Linked DNA regions of Homo sapiens: region 2 is linked to region 1. The links are contacts of gene promoters, found by promoter capture Hi-C in human tissues and cell types (Jung and others, 2019). All regions are on one chromosome and are shown on one strand. Each heading gives the region's core, a stretch centred on a gene start or on the middle of the fragment in contact. The rest is flanking DNA. Distances are from core to core; before and after follow the strand shown. Region 1 holds the start of NANP (N-acetylneuraminic acid phosphatase). Region 2 has its middle 79 kb from the start of LINC02967.

Region 1 (5,304 bases), core at 1,304-3,803:
TGTAACTGAGCCAGGGCTGCTCAAATTAAAGCCCATAACATTAAAGATTTTACTGGGACCTGATGCCTTTGCGCCTGATGTTGTTTAAGGTTTCTCCCCACTTGTTCCCAGAGTTCTATGTCTAGAATTCCTTCCTCTGGGAACCATGGGCTTTGTACTCCATTATTGACCACACTAGTTTTTAATTCCTTCAACAACTTAAATTCCTGTGGAGTGTGTTCATGAATTACCTACTATGGATTATTTGGATCAGGCCTTATGGAAACAGGAAAAGCGCAAGGTCCTAAGGGCTCTCCAGCTATGACAGCAGAGCGTAAAATTCTTTGTGTTGGGGTTTCTATTTCTACTACCGAAGGAGGCAGCACCGATGTTTCTGCAATTGGAGGAGGCGGTATAGGCCAATTTTAATCCTCCCTCTCCTGTTTTTTATTTTCAATTGGTGCTATGTGTGGGACAACAGATTCAGATTTTTATGAACAGCAACAGAATAGGGTGCTCTACACAAAGTTGGACAGGTCATGGAATGCCATTAGACGACTTGTCACAAAAGGAAATCTATCAAACAACGCATCCCCTTAAAAGGATTATACAGACTGCTATGCCTCATCTAACCTTAGATTTTTGCCTAAATCAGCAAACAACAAACTCTGCATGCAAGTCAGAAAAAAAAAAAAAAAGCTGCTCCAATCCTATAAGCTTCCTGTGCCTATAGTTTTATGCTAAATTGATTCTGACATTTCAGGCAATTAAAAGTAACTCCAATTAATTCACCATAATTTTGGCTGATTGCTAATCTAAATGTCCACAATTGATAGGCTAGCCCTATACGTCAATGAGGTAAGCACAGAAAGGAGTCATGGTTTTGAGGAATGCCTATGGGTTTATTCTCCACCATAGCAATGAGATGTCAACTGTGATTGTGCTCCATAAAATATAGAAACTGTAGGTAGTCTAACGCTGCAGAAGAAACTCCTATTAATATAAAGATAAACCAATTAATCTAACCTACTGAACATCAGTGGTCTGTTAAGGAGTTCCACCAGCGAGGTGAGAGACTGGCAATTTTTTTCTCTAAAGAGCTAAATAATGAATATTTTAGGATTTCCAGCCACGTGGTCTCGCTTACAATTACTCAACTCTGTCTGCTTCTGTATGGCAACAGCAGCCACAGACGATACAGAAATGAATGTGTGCGCTGTGTTCTAATGCAACTATGGGCACTAAAATTTCTTGATTTTCATGTGTAACAAAACACTGTTATTTTGATTTTTTAAATCCATTTACAAATGTAAAAATCACCCTTAGCCAGGCGCGGTGGCTCACGCCTGTAATCCCAGCTCTTTGGGAGGCCAAGACGGGTGGATCACGAAGTCAGGAGTTCGAGAACCAGCCTGGCCAACATGGTGAAACTCCGTCTCTACTAAAAATACAAAAATTAGCCGGGGGGTGGTGGCATGCGCCTGTAATCCCAGCTACTCAGGAGGCTGAAGCCGGAGAATTGCTTGAACCCGGGAGGCGGAGGTTGCAGTGAGCCAAGATCGTGCCACTACACGCCAGACTGGGTGACAGAGCAAGACTCCATCTCGAAAATAAAAATAAAAATAAATTAAAAAATAAAAAAAACCACTTAGCTCACTGGCTAAACAAAATCAGGTAATTGGCCTGTACCTGACAGTCAATTTCTGGTCACTAATGATGACCACATATCCAAATTACAGTAAAGGTACCCAAGAGAGACAAAGATTAGAGATTAGTGTTACGATCCCCGTTCTGCCAGCACTAGGAGACAAGAGTTGCTACAGCCCTTCCGCGGGTTTAAAAGGCGGTCGACGTCCCTCAACCTCTTGCTATGCCTGAAAACAACCGAGTAAAAGGCATCCAAAGACCTGAGAACGCAAGGTTTCAGGAAAACAATCAGGAAGGGCAAAACATGGGGCAGCCACTACACAGCCCCTCCGTCTTAGGGCACAGGTACTAAACGGGTTGTAAGAGACCCAAGTCACATCCTTCAGAAACGTGCTGGCGCGGGCCCAGGCAGACAGGGATTCCACCCCGGCGAAGGCCGCAAATGGCGCGAGGCGGGAAGGCGCAGGCTCCACCTTCCCCCGTCCCCAGATCACCTACAGTGACCTGCGCGTACAGGCAGGCTAGGACCGCGGGCGCTCAAGGCAGACATCAGGCCCGCCGACGTCTCCGCGCCGCCCGCCCGGCCACCCGGAGAGCCTGCTGCCCAGCGCCTGGCAGCGCGGACAACCTCTCTCGGGGAGGTGATGACGGTCCCTCGCGCCGGAGGGCCCAGGGAGGAAAGAGATAAGCAGAAAGACACCAGGGAAGAACACCACGCTTCGGACCAACGCCAGCCACAGCCACTGAGAAGTCGCCGCATCCGGCGGCGCCGACACACGTTTCCAGGGCTCTTGAGAGACCATACCCTGGGAGTCTCGCGGGATCTCACTTTTCTCGGCGGCGCAGGGAATGAGACAGATCGCGGGAATTCCACCCGCGCCGGGAGATGGTCTGGTGACTTCGCGGCTCCTCCCACGTCTCTCTGGGCAGTCCGCCTTGCGCATGCGCAGGCGGCGGTGGCAAGGCTACGGTTCGCGCCAGCGGCCGGCGCTATGGGGCTGAGCCGCGTGCGGGCGGTTTTCTTTGACTTGGACAACACTCTCATCGACACGGCCGGGGCGAGCAGGAGAGGCATGTTGGAGGTAACGTCCCCACCCATGGCGCTCCTCTGGGCGGGGTCAGTGCGCCCCGCCCCGTCCTGCACGCTCACCTCCCCTTGACCCCACTTCCACCCCGGCGCCGCGGGCCGCTCTTGCTGGTTGAAACCTGTGGAGCGTGCGGGTGCGGAGGTGGCTGGAGGCGCGCGGGCCCTGCGGGTCTGCTTTCCCTGGCCTGGCGGCCGCTTGTCACCCAATCTCGAGCCCTGGAGCGGCTGCTCGCAGGTGCCTTGGCGCTCGGGACGCGGAAGGGCTCCGTGACGGCTGCCACGGTGGCGGAGGTGCCCGTGGGCGCGGGAGGCGACAGCAAAGCCGCGAGACCAGGCGCTGGTCCCGCCCCCGGTCAGACTGTCGGTGTGGAGCTCGACAGAGGGTCGTGTCCCCCATGCGACTTTCGGGGTTGCTGGGAGGAGACATGGTAGAGTTAGCCCCAGTGTTGACCCAAGAAGGGACACGGCTGTCAGTACCGAGCCTGGACTTAAGCCCTGCTTTAGAGAATTGTCGCCGCAGAACTTCTTCTGGCCTCCCTGGCGGGGTGGTGGTCACCGTGGCTTTCTGACACGTGACACAGCAAAAGCCCGTGCTGCGAGGGCATGCCCTTCCTGAGGCGCTCCTCCGCGGCACTGCCCCTCTACACGCGCGGAGGCGCTTTCAGACCTTCCCGTGTTCCAGCCCCAGTCCACCCCGGCTTCCCTTTCTCTACCTTCAGCTTCAAGGGGAAAGGGAAGGATTTATCAGATGTGGAAAACTCACTTTCAAAAGCTAATTCATCCAAACCTGAGCGCCCCGTCCTCTTCATGCTTCATCAGTTAGTTTTTGTGTCCCTGGATCTTCCACTACCTCATCCGTTTTCTTTTTAGCTGCATTCCACTCCTGCCGCATATTCATGTTTGCCCTATAGTTTTAAAAAAGCTGTAAAAAGGATGCCTCCCTTTGGGCTATTCTTCCTGCTGTAGATGTTGCCTGTCTCTCTTGACAGCCATGTTTTCCCGGAGAAATCTATACCCGTTATCTCCTTGTCTCTACCTCCTATTTATTACTAAATCCATCGTAATGTCGCTTTATCTTCACCGCTAGACTGAAATAGACTTGCTGGATCACTAGGCATTCCCAAAATGCCGGAATCAGTAGACATTTTTAAAGTCTGTCTTCATGACTTTACTGAGGCATTCCACACTTTTAACTTGTTGGCCTCCACCTCAGGGGTGCCACCCTGTGCCATATTGCCTCCAGTATCTCTCGCTGCAGATGTTACATATTTACCTGTGTGTTATTAGTAAGCTGAGTCCTGTGCATTTCAATTAAATTATTGCTTTAGGCCAATTCTTGCTGTAGGCCCAGAGTTTGGGCTTTAAAATCAGACATTTGAATATGAATCACAGCTCTCCCAAAACCTAGCTGAAAGTGCCTCAAGGAATTAACCACTCGGAGCCTTATATCTTCATAAAATGTGAATTATATTAGTCCTCAATAACCCTGTAATACTTGGGAAGCCCATGGTTGCAGTGTCCACTCAGCGAACTATAGCACCTTCCACCCTCGTACGCTGTCTGTCCACCACTGCACATGCCCCGTGCATGTCTCAGTTACAGCTGAACTCATCTCTCACCTAGACTGTTGCTGTGGGCTTGTCTCCAGGTTTACCACATCCAGTGTGTCCTCCACATTCTTGCCACAGCAATATTTTTAAAACAAAGACTAAATCGTATGCCTCCCTGGTCTTTACACCCTCACTTATAGTAGTGCTGTATTTTGTTCAGATATTTCTTAATGCATCTGTCAAAGGATATTTCAATTAATTTTGCAACTCAGGTGCCTACTACTAAATAGTGAGCTTCTTGGGAGGGAACAAGCTGTCTTAATTATCCTCGTTTGACACATGGCAAATGTTGAATAAATGCTGGATGGATGGATACAAATTTTTACTTCGAGACTTGGTTCTATTACTGCCTCCTTTATAATTACAAATCATTGTAAATAATTTATGAATGGGCCGGGCGCGGTGGCTCACGCCTGTAATCCCAGTACTTTGGGAGACCGAGATGGGCAGATCACGAGGTCAGCAGATGGAGACCATCCTGGCTAACACGGTGAAACCCCGTCTCTACTAAAAATACAAAAATTAGCCGGGTGTGTTGGCGGGCGCCTGTAGTCCCAGCTACTGGGGAGGCTGAGCCAGGAGAATGGCGTGAACCCGGGAGGCGGAGCTTGCAGTGAGCCGAGATCGCGCCACTGCACTCCAGCCTGGGCGACAGAGCCAGACTCCGTCTCAAAAAATAATAATAATTTATGAATGGAGGAAGAGGGAAAGGTCCAGCCATTTATGGCCTTGGGCTTGGGGAGAAGAGGTCATATACTGACTGTATGTATCAACTTTAATTTTTTCTAATCACCTAGGGAAGTTATTTTTTTTCTCCCTCTTTAGACCTGTTTTTCATGGTAATTACTCAAGAGGAACTTTTCTACAGAAGCCTGGAGTTTCTCAGTGAACAAAGCAGAAGAGATTTCTGCATTTGTGAATTTACTTCTTAGTGGGTATGGCAGTGAACATAATAAATATTTACAGGTGTGATAGAAAAAG
Region 2 (5,304 bases), core at 2,080-4,579, 790 kb after region 1:
AGGGGAATTGCAATAAAGAGTAATTCACACAGAACCGGCTACATGGGAGACAGGAGTTTTATGGTTACTCAAATCAGTCTCCCTGAGCATTTGGGGATCAGAGGTTTTAAGGACACCTTGGTGAGTATGAGGAAGCCAGTGGCCAGGAGTGCTGACTGGTTAGGTAGGAGATGAAATCATAGGGAATTGAAGCTGTCCTCTTGCGCTGAGTCAGTTCCTGGGTGGGGGCCACAAGATCAGATGCCCAGATGGGCATCTTTTTTCTTTCTTTTTTTTATAAGTAAACCCTACTCATTTATTCAAAATTAGCCAATATCAGTGATAGCTCTGTTAATTTACAGAATACAGTTACATGTACACACAGTCTTTTCATTTATAAATTTAAAAATATTTATAGTATGCAAGGTATTACCTTAGGCATAGTAGAAAACTTAAGGTTGAAAAAATGTTTCACTTGTCAAGCACATCAGCATCAAGTTCAGGAAGTAAAATATGTCATAACATAGCATATAAGTTAACAGTAAAGGTTTATGATTATTTGGAAGAGAATAAAGAGAAGAGTTCCTAGGAGGGGTTGCCATGATCTCTTTTCTAATGACCATCCTTCCTCCTCATTTGTCAATTGATGCAAGTTAATGCCCAATCACAAGAATGGTTCCCAAGGATGAGTTGATTAATGCTTATATATATAATATGTATATATATATTTTAGAAAACACAATTTTAACTTCTAAATTCAGGTGGTATGTGTGCAGGTTTGTTACTGGGAATCGTACATGATCCTGAGGTTTGGGGTATGATTGATTCCATCACCCAGGTACTGAGCATAGTATCCAAAAGCTAGTTTTTCAATTCTTGCTCCCCTAATTCCCTCCCTCCTCTATCAGTCCCCAGTGTTTATTGTTGCCATCTTTATGTTCATGAGTACCCAATGTTTAGCTCCCATTTATAAGTGGGAACGTGCGGTATTTGTTTTCTGTTCCTGCACTAATTCGCTTGGGATAATGGCCTCTAGCTGCATCCCTGTTGCTGCAAAGGACATAATTTTGTTCATTTTTATGGCTGTGTAGTATTCTATGAGGTATATGTATCACATTTTATTTATTAAATTCACCATTGACTGTCATCTGGGTGGATTCCATGTCTTTGCTATTGTGAATAGTGCTGGGATGAACATGTGAATACATTTGTCTTTTTGGTAGAATGATTTGTTTTCTTTTGGATATATACTCAGTAATGGGATTGCTGAGTTGAATAGTAGCTGAGTTTCATGTTCTTTGAGAAATCTCCAAACTGCTCTTCACAGGGCCTGAACAAATTTACATTCCCACCGACAGCATATAGGCACTCCCCTTTCTCCACAGCCTCACCAGCATCTTTTGATTTTTGACTTTTTAATAATAGCCATTCTCACTGGTGTGAGATGGTATCTCACTGTGGTTTTAATTTATTAATTCTTGTATTTTGATTCTTGGAGAAAATAAACAATAGGCACAAAAATTTAGGTAGCTGGAACTTTAATATTAATAAAAACAGGGATCCTCCATCCCCCACTAAGCCAACCCAAACTGACAAACACACTTGCTTTTAAACAAAACCAGCAGGACAATTTCTCCAGCAGAGGCTCATTTTTGCCTCTCCCCGCTAGACTCATGCAAGATCCTGACAATGCAGAGGGCTTCATGTACTCCAGGAAGCACTGGGGCCAGGCAGCATTAGACGATTGGGATCACTTCTGAGTTGGCGAGTGGCTCGCCTTGGGTTCCTGTGGCTGCACCGTGTGTGATTTCAAAAGAGAAAATCAACAAGTGTTTCTGTGGTCCCAGGAACCAGGGCTGAGTGCCTAACAAACAGGGTTTTATTATTAACTTTTGATTCTGCACGTATGTTTCAGATCATCTCATTCAAACAAGACTGGTGAGAGACACATTTCCAAAGAAAAAGAGGAATGTGTCTGGGGTGAGGATAGAATGATAGATGGGGAGGCTATGGATGGAGTCAGACATGCCCAGAGTTTATGTGGCAGAAAGAAACCACTGCGAAGATCATCTGGCTCAGGCATTTCCTACATGTTCCCTGGGTCCTAATATTTTACAGGAGTGCCGAAGGAGAGGCCAAGGATAATTGGCTGGGGTGGGTCTGGGAAGAGTTTGCACTGGAAGAGTTTGCACTGGGCCCCAAGCATGTCCCAACTAGAGCATTCACTGCAGGCAGTTTACATAGGAAATATTCCTGTTTTATGATTTCTAGGTCTATTACAACAGATAAGCTATGTTGACATTTATATGTGCTGGGGTTTAACTGAAAACAGTTTTCTATTAAATACCTTGGAGCTCATTGAATCTTCTCACTTAACAGCTCAGGAACAGGGGCAAAAAGAGGCTCAGCCAGATCACTGTGGGTTCTCCAGGGAGTTGATAACCTGGGCCTCATCAACACCAGTCCAGGCTTTTCTCTACTAAACCAATTATTTGATTGAAACATGGTCAGTTCCCTTGAAGTGGGAGGTCAGACCCCTGTACTGGCTGCAGGATGACCTGCAAGAGTGGCATGAGTGGGCGCTGAGTCTGGTCCCCCTGGGCCCTGGGCTTAGCCATGTTATGTGGCCCAGTGCTGGGTCTCTCAAGACTCTTCCTGACTACAGAGTTTTGTCTTTTTCCTAAACTTCCCCTAAATCAAATTCTGCTTTATATCTCTCTTTTTTAACTTTTTGCCTTTATTTATCCCCAACTCTTGAAATAATTGCTCTGCTTTTTCCACGTGGTCCTAAAGCTGGCACCATCACCATCAGTGCGCTGTATACATTGCTCTGGTCAGGAATATGGTCGATATGCTTGTTAGACATTTTTGCTGTGGGAGATGGCATCCTAATTGAAGCCAGTGAAATAAAACACAGGTTTTATTATAAGAATCCTGGAATGTATTACAGAACCCAAGTGTGAGAATGTGGCTAGGCTTCAACTAAATGAGTCAAAACTGGAAACAGAAACGGAAATGCCATTGGCTCTCTTTCTCTCTGTGTGTCTTCTCATTCTATTTTAATGTTGGCTCTGTTCTTCTGCCTCACCGAAGCCAGTTTTCTCCATGTGGCAGGAAACTTGTCCACTGAATGCTGCACATGTTACCTCTTGTGGCTTCAGTCTCCCAAAGAACCCGACAATGTCTGGGGCAGGGCTGTTGGCCCACCATGGGCCTGCGCACACACGCACATGCACACACCATGGATGGAGGGGTGGGTTGGTGGTACAGGGAAAGTTTCAGGGGAGGCCAGTGCGGGGAACATACAACTAGATAGCCATCTTGTAAGGCCATCCAGGGTTCTCCACCTTGGCTCCTGGATGTCCTCACACACAGAATCACAGAAAAGAATATGTCAAAGAGGCATTCTAAAACCTCCAGTGGCTAAAGGTCCCAGGTAGGGCCCATCCACCTCACCAGGGCTCAGGCAGATGGTTGGCAATGGGGCGGTGGCTGTGGATGAAAAGATGGGGCATTACCCAAGGCAGTGCTCTTGTGCAGAGCCTGGCTTCTTCAGGAAGATGACAGGAGTCCATGTGACTGTGGATGAAAACATGGGGCATATCCCAAGGGAGTGCCCTTGTGCAGGGCCAGCCTTCTTCAGGAAGACAACCAGAGTCCATGTGGTGTGAATCACCCTTTACCTCCTTCTGGAATCCAGGAGAGGAGACATTCTAGGAGGTTCCCAGCACAGAGATATCTCCCTTAGCTGTGTTTGTGTGTTTACTGGGATGCTACACAGAGAGATGCTTCCTTGCCCATTGGAAAGGCTGCCAACATTGATGTTCTTCCTTTGTGATATTTTTGCGACTGCTGTGCAAAAATAAAATACCATTTTTTCAATGATTCTAAGACATACACATTTAAAAAAACACATCTTAACTTCTCCAAGATTGGAGTACATTGCAGAATTCATGGCATGTCACAGCTCTCCTGCCAGAGGATTTCTGTTGTTCGCAGTATATAAAGTAGTGGTGTTATATCAACAGCGTCTTAAATTCAATGAAGTGTGATAGTTGCAGAGGCAGATTTCCTTGAAAACAATGACAGCGAGTCATGGTAGAATGCACCAACCTGTCAACCTTAGATCATGAGATTCAGAAATCATGATTAAGTGCTGAGTTCATTTGAGCAGGAAGCTTAGGGTTAGCCACCTGGGAAACACAGACTCCAAAGGAACAGGGTCAAGGCTCCACAAGTTGGGAGTTAGGGCTTCACTTACACAGACAGAGACAGAGAAGTTTAGGGGATTCCAGCATCTTCCATGCAAGGCCTGTACATATGTTGCAGTGATTTGATCGGTGGCAGCTTGCTACATTCTAAGGAATATTGCTTTAGCATTCCATGAGCAGGGTTGACCATCTGAGGGGTCTTAGTTCTGGCGCCACAAGGTCTTTCTGAATCACTTACAGGAAGAAGCCAGAGCTACAGCTGCGTGCTGCGTGACTCAGGCCACAAAGCCACATTCCTGTCAGGGATCAGAATAATCTAAAGTTCCAACAACTTTAGGTTTTAATTATTTAATTTCATAAACCTGATGGATAAGCAAAGGAAAGTCTCATCTTCGTGGCAGCAAGGGTGGGTTTTATGGCTGAGCCAAATGGGCTTCTGAGCTGTAGGAGAATCTGCCTACAGAGGGAACACACGCTTGTCTCTGGGAACCTTAACATCAGGAAATAAGGGAGCTTTAAACAGCAGGTGGGCTACGTGTGAAGAGGAGTTGTTTTCTGTTGTTTTACTAAATACTGGAATCAGTTTTAAATCAGTTTAAAAAGGCGACTGTGTAGTTCCATTTTAAAGTGACTTCTAAAGGGAAGGCAGGTCCCCATTGTCTGGGATGAGATGAGAAACTTCTGCCTAGCAATAGGAGGTAGATTAGTTGACCCTCAATCAGAGTGACTTGGGTGCAAATTAACTAAAAATGTTCATTCAAATTGGCTTAAATGGGAAAATAATTTATTATCTAACATGAAAAGAAGCCAGTAGTCCAGATTCCAGAAATCCTCATTAAACTGTTGACTTTCCTCTTGCTTTTCCCAGTTAGTCCTAATTAAACTATCTTAATTTTTCTTAAGGTAAAACAAAAGAAAAGCCACTCTGTCTTTTGTCTGGAAGGGAAGTGATTACATTAACCTCTCCTTGCCCTGGGGCTTGACTGTGCTGCCAAGGACCCGAGTCTCTCTGACCCGCAGTTGAGTGATGGGCTCTTGGCTCCAGGCAGACCCTTCCTGGGCTGCAGCCGTCAATGTCCGTGCATGGTAACCACCAGATAAGGAGAAGGAATGC

What was found. The method cuts DNA at HindIII sites, captures the fragments that hold promoters and counts their contacts. A contact is called where the count stands out against the background at its distance.
Region 2: a contact is called between a fragment that was not itself captured here and the fragment with the promoter of NANP in region 1, in 1 of the 25 tissues and cell types used here (lymphoblastoid cells).

What each region holds. Positions count from the first base shown.
Region 1 is chr20:25,621,263-25,626,566 of GRCh38, reverse strand. NANP (N-acetylneuraminic acid phosphatase) reads left to right here and starts at 2,553. Exons shown (of 2, transcript NM_152667.3): 1 at 2,553-2,708. The coding sequence starts at 2,619. ZNF337-AS1 (ZNF337 antisense RNA 1) reads right to left here and starts at 2,522. Exons shown (of 4, transcript NR_126465.1): 1 at 2,432-2,522. RefSeq lists enhancers at 2,464-2,633, 2,605-3,280 and a silencer at 2,804-2,863. The HindIII fragment of the contact is 13,881 bases long and covers 1-5,304 here.
Region 2 is chr20:24,837,035-24,842,338 of GRCh38, reverse strand. No RefSeq gene overlaps it. Among named protein-coding and RNA genes, the nearest start is that of LINC02967, 79 kb to the left of the region's middle. The HindIII fragment of the contact is 4,719 bases long and covers 970-5,304 here.